Regions from separate parts of the Homo sapiens genome. Here all the other regions are linked to region 1. Evidence: promoter capture Hi-C in 16 types of primary human blood cells and fetal thymus (Javierre and others, 2016). All regions are on one chromosome and are shown on one strand. Each heading gives the region's core, a stretch centred on a gene start or on the middle of the fragment in contact. The rest is flanking DNA. Distances are from core to core; before and after follow the strand shown.

Region 1 (2,820 bases), core at 69-2,568:
CTGGGGCGGGTGGATCACCTAAGGTCAGGAGTTCAAGACCAGCCTGGCCAAAATGGAGAAACCCCGTCTCTACTAAAAATATAAAAACTAGCCTTAGCCCGTCGTGGTGGCGGGCGCCTGTGGTTCCAGCTACCCAGGAGGCTGAAGCAGGAGAATCTGAAGCAGAAGGCTGAAGCAGAAGGCAGAGTGGGGACTCCCCCACGCTTTGGCTTTCAGAACAAGGGTTCGAATTCTGGGGCTATTACTTTCTGACCGTGTGGTTTTCTGCAAGCATCTTAACCCGGGCCTCAGTTTCCTCATCTGTAAATGGGAACAGGAATTCCTACCTCTTATGGTTGTACTGGGCGTTATGTGAGCCCAAGGAGCCCTGACCTGCGGTGAGAGGCTGGAGGCCGAAGGGCAAGGTTCGAGGGGCTCTGGGTGCCTGGGACAACCTCTGGGCAACAGGGAGAGGCGGCTGCGGGGCCAAGTCCCTCCTAAGCGGCCACGCGAGAGGCCCTGAGTCGAGAAGGGTTACGGCGCTTCCCAGAGCCCACCCCGCCCAACGTGTCACAAATAAAGCTGGCCTTTCTCCGATTCCCTGATTGCAGCCATTCAGGGAGCAGCCCCTTGCCCACGCATCCATTAGTCGAGGCGGTGGCTGCGTGTGCAGTGCTACAGGGTTCAGCGCCTGCCTCGGCTCCGGAATCAGGCTGTTTCCTTCTAGACCTCCCATGGGGGATTCAAGCCGGCGTCCGGGTCAAAGAACAGGGACAAAGTCCTCCTGCCACGGGGGACCATCTGCAGGCAAAGTGAAGAATGAGGAGCTTCGGCAAAATGCCGACTAAGGCCTCCTTAGGTTTTGCCCCACTCCAAGATGGAAGGCCTGAGGCTTCACACTGCCCCCGAAGTTCCTTTCCCATTGGCTATCTGGGAATTGAGTTTTCCAATAATGCGGACGCTGATTGGTCAATCCAGGACGGTTGCTCAAGCCATTGGCGCAGCCGCCATTGGAGGGCGGCTCTCAAAAGTTTTCAGACACAAATTAGGTTCGAGGGAGGAAACGGAGAGGAAAGGGAAAACTTGAGACGGAGGCGGGACTAAGGAAACGGCAGCTTGCATTGGTTTATTAGAGGCCAAGGGGCGGCTCTTGAACGTTCCTTCCTCTTGATTAGTCCTATTTAGGAAAAGAGGGCGGGTACTGAGGAAAAGCGGCAGAAGCGCCTGCTTCCATTGGTCAGTCCTGGCAGGAGGCGGAGCACCCGCGGCAGCTGATTGGTGCGGGAGGCAAGGTGGGCGGGGCTCTGAGCCGGAGGTTTTGTTGTGAGGGTCGGTTGTCAAGCAGCGGCCAATCAAGGCAGGGGATGGAGGCAAGTGGGGGTCGCGCCTGGAGCGGAGCCTCGGCCTCCGGAGCCGCAGCTGCAGGTGGAGTGGGCAAGGGGACGAGGTGGCGAGGGGACGGTGGGCCCTGGGCTGGGCCGAGCCAGGCGGGGCTGGCTGGGCTTGCGGGCAGAGAGCTCTGAGCGTGGGGAGGCTAGAGCCCGTACTCCGCAAGCAGAGGGTTGGGAGGATCAGCCGTGGCCGAGGGACCTGCCCCCGCCCCCGGACGAGAGGGGTCGGGGTGGAGGCCGGAGGGGGCAAAACCAGGGAGGCCGGAAGCAGAGCTGGGGGTCTGCAGAAGGACAGGTAATGAATAGGGAGAAGAGAAGTAGGAGAATGAATGAATGGGAGACCCCGCGAGCATATGGGAAAGGGCAGTAACGGGAGTCTGGCGAGGCAGGGGCCACGTGAGGGATATCGGGAGACAGGATGTGCATAAGTGGGAGACTCAGGGGGCAGGGAGAAAAGGGGGTGTGAACGGAGGACTAGAGAGGCAGACCCGGGGACCCAGGAGAAAGGGGACGGAGGGGAGCGGGCTCATGGGAAAGAGGTGAAGTGGCTGTGGGAAGGAGGTGGGAGGCTCCATGAGGAGGCCTTTTAGAGTTGAAGAGTCATAGCCACTTACGCCCAGACTGGAGGCCTAGTTCCTAGCTCTGTCCTTGGGAATCGCAGGGAGCAGGAGCGGTTCCCTTGCCAGGAGCTGGGGAATTGGACCATCAGGGTCGTCTTCGAGATTCTTTCCAAGGAGGACTTCAGTGGCCGTCTCTGGGATGCCTTTCCTAGGCCCCTAAGCTTAGCTTCTGACTCCGCTCTCCCACATCCCACACGTCAGACAAAAACAACGACTCGCAGGAAATCTATGTGAATTGCAGACACGTGGTCTTCTCCGCCCCACTGCGGCTGCTGCACTTTAGGCAGCCAGCATCCCGGAACAGAGCTGCAGCTCATTATCCTGGCCTCTGGGAGGAGTTTCTTTTTCCTTACGTTCCAAATCACCCTACCTGAGGTGCCCCCTCTGCAGATTCCCAAACCTAATTTGCAGTGCAGCTTCTGACTCTGGTGGCTTTGGTGGGTGTCAGTCTTTATCAAGTGGTCTTGGTGATCCAGGGAGCAACAGCTCTTACCAAGCATTTTCTAACATGACGTCACCTCTTGTTTGTATTGCAGCCCTGTATTGAGCTGAGATGGCTCGAGCCTAACATTCCATGATCCAGGATCGTGACAGATGTGCACAGGCTGCTGCTGTTGCTGCTGTGGGTAATTTGGAACCACGAGGCACCCCAGGGCCAGAAGACGAGGCATTCTGTCTGCCTGGATGTGTGGGAACTCTCTGCCAACTTGATTGGTGGATCTGGGGGGGGATCCACCCCCACCCCACGAGGAAAGCACAGTTTATTTTGTGGGTGGGGCTTCAGGTGCCAGCCAGCTGAAGGATGGCCACCCCTGTGGTCACCAAGACAG
Region 2 (2,700 bases), core at 163-2,662, 140 kb after region 1:
TGCAGCCTCGACTTCCTGGGCTCAAGCAATCCTCACACCTCAGCCTTCTGACTAGCTGGGACTATAGGCATGTGCCACCACCCCTGGCTAATTTTTATTATATATATATATTTGGTGGAGTCGGGTTTTCGCCATGTTACCTAGACTGGTATTGAACTCCTGGGCTCAAGTGATCCTGCTGCCTCAGCCTCTCAAAGTGCTGTGGTTACAGGTGTGAGCCAGCGCACCTGGCCCTGATTTTAAAACTTATTACTTACATTTGACTTATATGTGGAAGTTTTCCATGGTATCTGAATTATTCTTTTGAACCTGCCTGGAAACACTTCACGTGACCCTCTCCTCTACCCACTTTTCATTAAGGAACACTTGATTTCAGAAATTTGGAAATGCGGCTGGGTGCGGTGGATCATTTGAGGTCAGGAGTTCAAGACCAGCCTAGCCAGCATGGTGAAACACTGTCTCCACTAAAAATACAAAGATTAGCCGGGCGGTAGTGGCGCGCACCTGTATTTCTAGACACTCTGGAGGCGGAGGCAGGAGAATTGCTTTAGTCTGGGAGGCGGAGGTTGCGGTGAGCCAAGATTGCACCACTGCACTCAAGCCTGGGCGACAGAGCGAGACTCTGTCAAAAAAAAAAAAAAAAAAAAAAAGAAAAGAAAAAAGAAAGGAAGGAAGGAAGGAAAGAAAAGGAAGAAATTTGGAAATGTGAAAGGTGGGGACCCAGTCTCCCGAGACTCTTGATAATGCGCTCTGGAGCCATTTGTCTAGTTAACTGCCTTGATTAGAAAGGATCCTAAAGCTTCTCTCACCTCCCTCCGGGAGACGGCCAAATGGCCACAGCCGAGCCTAGGTCTCTTGGCTAGCTCCAAAATGCCGGGAAGACTCCGGCGCTATCTCCCTAGGTATTTATATGTCAAAGGGAGAAAGTCCCAGAACTTGAAGACCCCTCCAGGTGGTTAAAGCTGAGACACCTGGGGCTATCTCGTTCCGGGTGAGGCTTTATTTACATATCAAAGGGCTGGGGTTAGGTTTCGGGCCCATTAAGTTTCCAAGGAGACCCTTTCAAAAAGGGAGGGGAATAGCTACCTCCTTCGCCTTTATAAGCAGAGAAAACTTGTCCTTCATCTATGGAGTGTCAGGCTACTTGCACGGGACATTTCCTGGCCAGGAGTAAGGCTTAAGGGGAGGCTGGGAGCGGAGGCTATGTACTTATTATTTGCTAAAAGGTAATTAATATAAAATCTGTCTCTGATCCCAAACACCTGTGTGTGTGCATTCAGGATAAAATTAATAAAGATAAATATTAAAAAACCACTGGCAGGCCAGACGTGGTGGCTCACATCTGTAATCTCAACACTTTGGGAGGCCAAGATGAAAGGATTGTTTGAGTTAGGGAGTTCGAGACCAGCCTGGGCAACATAGGGAGACCCCCGACTTGTCCCCACCACCCCCTATCCCCCGTCTCTACAAATAGTTAAAAAAAAATAGCCAGGTGTGGAGGTGCATGTCTGTGGCAGGAGGATCACCTGAGTCCTGGAGGTCGAGGCTGCAGTGAGCTGTGATTGAACCACTGTACTCCAGCGTGGGTGACAGAGCAAGACCCTGTCTCAAAAACAAGAACAATGAAACACTGACAGGACAGGCTGGACGTGGTCGTACATGCCTGTAATCCCAGCAAGGAGGCAGAAGGATTGCTTGAGGCATGGAGTTCTAGACCAGTCTGGGCAACATAATGATACCCCATCTCTATAAAAAACAAAAACCACTAACAGCAGCCTGGGGTGGGTGCTTTCCCTCTTCCTCCACCAATCATGATTGGCTCTGGAGAAGGGGCATGCCAGGATGGCTCTGGCCCAAGGTTGGCCCTAGAGGGTGCAGCCCCAATTGCTCTGGGCAGGAGAGACACTCATCCTCACCTTGCAGAATTGCCAGATAAAAACACAGGGCACCAAGTTGAATTTGAATTTTGGATAAATAACAATTTTTTTTAGCATAAGTATATCCCAAGTATTGCATGAGATATACTTAAGCTTAAAAAAAAAAACCTTCATTGTTTATCTGAAATTCAAATTTACCTGGGCTTTCTGTATTTTTACTTGCTAAATCTGGAACTCAACCATGGTGACCAGGGAAGAGGACCCCCTGGAGATGCCAACACCTTATGCCCATTGAAAGAATAATACAAGGGCTAGGAGCAATGGCTGACGCCTGTAATCCCAGTACTTTGGGAGCCCAAGGTGGCAGGATCACTTGAGGTCAGGAGTTCGAAACCAGCCTGGCCATCATGGTGAAACCGCATCTCTACCAAAAATACAAAAATTAGCCGGAAATCACTTGAACTCGGGAGGCAGAGGTTGTAGTAAGCTGAGATCACGCCATTGCACTCCAGCCTGGGCAACAGAACAATACTCCATCTCAAAAAATAAATAAATTAAATAAGGGCACTCAGGCCGTCTTTCTTTTCATTTCAGAAGAGATATCGAAGGAGATAGTGCTCAGGAAATTGAATCTAGGAAATGTTACTCACAATTTTTTGGTTACAATGAGTTTATCAAGCATCCTTTGAATCTTCTTCCTTTTTTTTTCTTTTTTTTTTAACAGAGTCTTGCTCTGTCACCCAGGCTGGAGTAGTACAGTGGTGTGATCTCGGCTCACCACAACCTCCACCTCTCGGGTTCAAGCAATTCTCCTGCCTCAGCC
Region 3 (2,700 bases), core at 189-2,688, 250 kb after region 1:
TGTGTTTTCAGATCCTAGAGGGGAAAAGCCTGATTTTTCCCCTAGGACACCCTGGAAACCCCCACCTCACCCCTACTTCTCTCCACAGTCGTGTCAACTACCTGACCCCCTGGCATTAATCTCTGGAAAGGAGGCTGACTCCCAGGCTGCCGGACGGTGCCACCTCAGGTCCCCTGGCCAGACAGAGGACTTATGGTGGCACCAGCCATCTCCCCAGGAGTTCAGCCTAACTAGAAATAAACCTAATGCTCCCTTAGAGACACACGCAATTGTCTCTGTCTGTGTGTGTTGCACAGCCTGGGAGAGGGTCAGGGCCACAGGATGACAGTATCTTACCCTTGCCCGTCCCCGGCCAACTCCTGGAGGACTGGTGGGGGGTTGGAGAAAAATGTCTGGTGACCTGGTTTGAGAGTCAGGGTGTAAGCCGCAAGGTCCAGCCAGAATTGAGATCCAAGAGCAAGAGATGTGCTCCAGCCCCTTGCCTGCAGCCCCACACCCAAGCCCCCTCCATTTCAGATCCTGAATTTGAGCCCTAAGAAGAAAGGGAGAGGGCTAGAAAGCTATTTTTAGGTGCCTTTTTGAAGCTCTTGTCATACTGGTGTGCTCTGGGGGGCTTCCCTGTGCCTGGGGTCCCCCTGAAGGTGTGGGAGCAGGCTGGGGCAAGGGGAGCTGGCCAGGCCTATGGCCTTGATTCCTGTGACGCAACAGAATGTAGAGTCTAAACTTGCATGAGATGCATGAAGCCACTCAGAGAAGAAAGTTCCCCGCTCTCCAAAGCACCACCAATAAACATGTCATTTAAGCAAAAAGTCCTCTGCTCTATCCATGAAGCTTCAGGACTAGCCCTTGTCTACCCACCAACCATCCATTCCAAGCCACTCCTGTGAAAGGAAGGTATGATGTCCCGGGGACAGTGTGGGGACTCCTGGCCCAGGTCTGGAATAACGCCATCCAGGGGGCTAGGGAAGAGCATCTCCAGCATGGTAAGGGGGTGTATTAGTCTGTTTTCATGCTGCTGATAAAGACATACCCAAGACTGGGAAGAGAAAGAGGTTTAATGGACTCACAGTTCCACATGGCTGGGGAGGCCTCATAATCATGGTGGAAGGCAAAAGGCACTTCTTACATGGTGGCAGCAAGAGAGAATGAGTGCCAAGCGAAAGCGTTTCCCTTATAAGACCATCAGATCTCGTGAGACTTATTCACTACCACGAGAACAGTATGGGGGAAACCGCCCCCGTGATGCAATTATCTCCCACTGGCCCCCTCCCACAACATGAAGGAATTAAGAGCGCTACAATTCAAGATGAGATTTGGGTGGGGACACAGCCAAACCATATCAGGGAGTTAGGGCTGCTAGCATCTGTGCTTAGCTCCAGGACCTTTCAGATACCCTACTCCCATCCCACCTGTGGGCAGCTGGCAAGCATGGACCCAGATCAGGATAAATAGCTACCAAGCTAAAAATCTACCTGCATAGGACTTCTGGTCCTGAAACCTGGGGCTTCAGGGACCCACAGACCTCCTGAAATCATGTACAGAATCATGTGTCCACTTTGGGACTGCACTTGGGAAGCCACTGGCAGAGCCGCCTGGAGTGTCAGAGCCACATTCTGTGCCACCCAGTGTCCCCTCCAAATGACAACTCAGAGAAGAGCTGGACTTGCCCAGGGCTCACAGCAGGGATGCTAGAATCCTGGCCTGGGAGAGGTGGGCCAGCCAGAGAACCCCAGCAGACATGCTGAAGCCTGCCAGATGGCATCAAGTGACTGGGGTGTTTTTCCTGGCCCTGCTTCCTTGAATGACTGGGCAAGTCCCTGCCAGAATACAGCCCAGCGAACACTAAAGAGCTTTGCCTGGGCCAGGCCCTTTGCTGGTGCTGGGAGGACACAGACAAGATGCCCTCCCTGCCTTTGAAGTGCCTCCAGCCCAGCAGGCCCAGCCAATGAGAACCTGAAAGTAGAGGTGATCACATGAGTACACACATAGACCATGTTCTCCCAGCCCAAACCCCATGAATGGCAACCCACACCAGCAATTTAATTAAAGCTTCTTGCCCACTGATTGTAAATTTAATCCTGATTTCAATAATATAAATAGATTATAAAATATATAAATATAAATATGTATATGTATATATGTAATAATATATATTTATATAAAATATAAATATAAAAAATGTGTGCCTAAGAATAAAGGAAATGCAGAGTACATAAGCATAAATGAGTCTGCTTTCACGTACAATTTCTATTTTTAAGTGGAAGGCAATGCATTAACCATCTTGCAGACCCCATGAGATGGGTAATTTTACACCCATTTTACAGATGATGAAATGGACTCAGGAAGGTTAAGCGGCTGGCCCAAGATCTGGTGATTGGCAGAGCTAAGAATTGAAGCTGGCCTGCCTAAGCCCCCCATCCCCATCCCCCGCCTCTGGCCACCAGGCTCTACTGCCTGCCTGCTACCAGACAGATCCAAACCAAGAATGGGGAAGAAACCAAAGGGGGCTTCCTGGGGGTGGGGGCATCTGACCAGGGCTTAGAGGGAGGATAGGACGTCCCATCAGAAAGCTCTCTTGGGGCCGGGCAGGCTGGCTCACACCTGTAATCCCAGCACTTTGGGAGGCCAAGCGGGCGGACCACCTGAGACCAGGAGTTCGAGGCCAGCCTGGCCAACATGGCAAAACCCCATCTCTACTAA
Region 4 (2,700 bases), core at 136-2,635, 240 kb after region 1:
ATTTCTCCTTGGGGAATGGGGAGCCCCAGCCCTTATGACTGAACCCCTGCAGGATGGCCTGGCCAGTGCGCAGCGTGCAGGTCAGTGTGTGCTAACTCCTAGCCCTAGATGTGTTCTTGCCCCACATGAGTGTGCCCCACCCCTCTCCCAGCCATGGGCAACCCGGGCTTTGGCAGAGAGTCTGTATGCCCCTTTCTGCCAGGGACCCTGGCCCCAGCTGAAGAGGGCAGCCCAGGCCCAGGATCCTTGCCCCCAAGCCCAGCTCCCCAGAGCCCACGGCTGTGCTGCCTGTCCTCTACTTACAGCCCTGACCTCTGTTCCCACTCTGGCATCAGCAGCCCAGCCTCTCCCACGAGAGGCTGTGGTGGGAACACAGCTCTAAGTGTCAGATCCCTGGCTCAGCCTCCCAAAAAATGAACTTGGGCCAGACATGACCCCTCTGGTCTTCCATTTCCCTGAAGGTGGGGGCACAGACACAATGTTTTCCCAGGTCGGGACTGCCAGAGCTCACATGTTGGGATAGCAGATTTCACTGACCCCAGCCAGCCCCAGGCAGCCCCGAGAGCCAGGGCTGAGCTAAGTGCATTCTACCCATGATCATACTCATCCTCGCTCTCACCACCACGCCCCGCCCAGCCCCTGCACTCAGTAAAATAAGAATTTTCATTATGTAGCACAGAAAGGTCAACAGAATCGCCTGAAGCAGCACAGCCGGCAGTGGCCAACTTGAGTTTACACTCAGGTCTGCCCGATTCCAGCTGCCCCACATGTATTCCCAGGTAGTCGTGGCATTTGCCGAGTGTTGGCCTCTTCCGCGGGCCAGGCCTGTAGACCCTTCCCAGCAGGCAGCAATTCTCGCTTGCATTTCTAAACCTTCTGGAAATGACTAAGGAAGCCTCCCCGATCCCCCATTTTTCTTTTTCCTCCTAAATGAGAATTTTTGCAGGTCCCTCCCATCTTTCACCCGTGTCCCTGCTGACTGCACTTTGATGAGGGAGGCTCAGGTGGGAAGGGGGACCCACGAGTGGCAGCTCGGGGAGCCATGGTGTTGCACCACCAGCATTTCCAGAGTCTTCTGGAGAGCTAGTGAAAATATAGATTCCTAGGTCCCCCAAGTCCTCCTGGGGGACCTAGGAATTTGCATTGTACAAGCTGTCCTGAAAATTCTGATGCCCGCTAAAGTCCAAGCTCCACCAGATAGAGGGAAGCCACAGGTTTCCCACCGTGCCAGTTTGGTCCTACCTAAATGCCTTTCTAGAGGGAGAACATGGGGATCCCCTCGGGGTCCCACCGAGCCTCCACCTCACCCTGAGTTACCTGCTTAGATGCCAACCGCCAGCCAGGAATTGCCTTCTTGCTGCCACTCGTAGCTGGCCCCTCAGACACAAGGAAGATTAATTGGCAGTAGCTGGGCCGTGTGCAAAGGATTAGCAGGTGCTGAATGGGGGAGGGGGAGAAAAGAGGCTGTTGATGCCCAGGAAACCAGCAGCACCTCCCAACTCCCAGGGTCCAGCAAGGATGTGGGCCCCAGGGAAGGGCTCCTGCATGGCCCAGGTTTGGAGCACCATGGGTTGCCAGGGGACCTGCCCGGCTTACCAGGGGCCTGGCTTCCCATACACCTTGGCCAAGACACGGAGTGGCTGATGGGAGAATAACAGCTTGGAGTTCCCATGTGATGCCTGGAGACTCCTCATGGTAGCAGGGGCTTGTCAGCTCCCACTCAGCGGTGGCAAGAGGTGTACCCCAACTCTCCAGCCCCCAGGCCAGGACGCAGGCAGGTTCTTTCTGGCTTAGAGTCTTCTCTGGGCAGGGTCTCAGCAGCCCTGCCTTGGGCTCTGCCAGAAAGGCTGTGTCCCAGGCCTGGGCCTTGAGGATGGATCCAAGACCCGGCAGATGACTGAGGCATCTGACCTGCCCTGTGAACTGAGGCTGGACACTTGAAGGGATACAGAGATCTAGGAGGAGAGGGTGCAAGGGACAGGGCCCAAGGAAGAGGGGCTCAGTGTGGTGGCCCTGAGGGATATTTGGCAAAGGGCAGGACTTGACTTAATTATCCGCACCATTTCTAGAGTTCTTCCTTTCCTTTCCTTTCCTTTTTTTTTTTTTTTTTTTAAGCCACAGTCTCTCTCTGTCACTCAGGCTAAGTGAAGTGGTGCAATCACAGCTCATTGCAGCCTCAACCTCTCAAACTCCTGGATGCAAGCAATCCTCCTGCCTCAGCCTCTCATAGTATTGGGATTACAGATGTAAGCCCCTGCACCTGGCCTAGAGCTCTTCCTTTGTGCCTGGCAGTGTGCCAGCCTTGGCACACTGAGCAAGACAGACATAGGCCCTGTCCTCATGGAGCTTACATTCCAATGGAGGAGATTACTGACAAATAAAGAATATTGCAAATTATGCTAAGTGCCATAAAAGAAACAAACAGGGCAGAAGCATGTTGTGGAGGGCAGTAGGGGCAGGTAGGCAGGCCCCTATGACGAGGTGGATGTATATTTGAACTGAGACATGAAAAGTAAGAAAGACTCAGCTGTGAAAAAAGCTGGGTGAGTGGTGCTCCAGGCCAAGGACACTGCAACGAGAAAGGTTCTGAGGCTGGAATGAGCCTTGAGGAGCAGAATGGGAACCGGGGAGCCTGGAGCTTAACGGGTGCAGGGGAGAGTGGTGGGAGATGAGGTTGACAGAGGGCAGGGGCAGATGTTG

Evidence for each region. Contacts are between HindIII fragments. The CHiCAGO score rates a contact against its expected background, and 5 or more counts as called.
Region 2: a fragment that was not itself captured here is called in contact with the fragment with the promoter of KATNB1 in region 1 in 1 of 17 cell types (M0 macrophages); the score reaches 6.5 in M0 macrophages.
Region 3: a fragment that was not itself captured here is called in contact with the fragment with the promoter of KATNB1 in region 1 in 1 of 17 cell types (M1 macrophages); the score reaches 5.6 in M1 macrophages.
Region 4: a contact is called between the fragment with the promoter of CNGB1 here and the fragment with the promoter of KATNB1 in region 1, in 1 of 17 cell types (M0 macrophages). The highest score is 5.2, in M0 macrophages.

The regions. Positions count from the first base shown.
Region 1 is chr16:57,734,452-57,737,271 of GRCh38, forward strand. It overlaps KATNB1 (katanin regulatory subunit B1), which reads left to right and starts at 1,319. Exons shown (of 20, transcript NM_005886.3): 1 at 1,319-1,404; 2 at 2,527-2,820. The coding sequence starts at 2,793. LOC107984852 (a long non-coding RNA gene) reads right to left here and starts at 2,193. Exons shown (of 2, transcript XR_001752221.3): 1 at 1,985-2,193; 2 at 1-1,156. RefSeq lists enhancers at 1-147, 777-886, 866-1,160, 907-1,076, 2,445-2,514 and a silencer at 1,387-1,626. The HindIII fragment of the contact is 9,286 bases long and covers 1-2,149 here.
Region 2 is chr16:57,872,444-57,875,143 of GRCh38, forward strand. No RefSeq gene overlaps it. Among named protein-coding and RNA genes, the nearest start is that of KIFC3, 71 kb to the left of the region's middle. RefSeq lists an enhancer at 691-1,218. The HindIII fragment of the contact is 1,231 bases long and covers 798-2,028 here.
Region 3 is chr16:57,987,308-57,990,007 of GRCh38, forward strand. It overlaps SPMIP8 (sperm microtubule inner protein 8), which reads left to right. Exons shown (of 8, transcript NM_199456.3): 8 at 89-809. The coding sequence ends at 119. Among named protein-coding and RNA genes, the nearest start is that of ZNF319, 12 kb to the right of the region's middle. The HindIII fragment of the contact is 1,218 bases long and covers 830-2,047 here.
Region 4 is chr16:57,969,743-57,972,442 of GRCh38, forward strand. It overlaps CNGB1 (cyclic nucleotide gated channel subunit beta 1), which reads right to left and starts at 1,386. Exons shown (of 33, transcript NM_001297.5): 1 at 1,318-1,386. The HindIII fragment of the contact is 12,254 bases long and covers 1-2,700 here.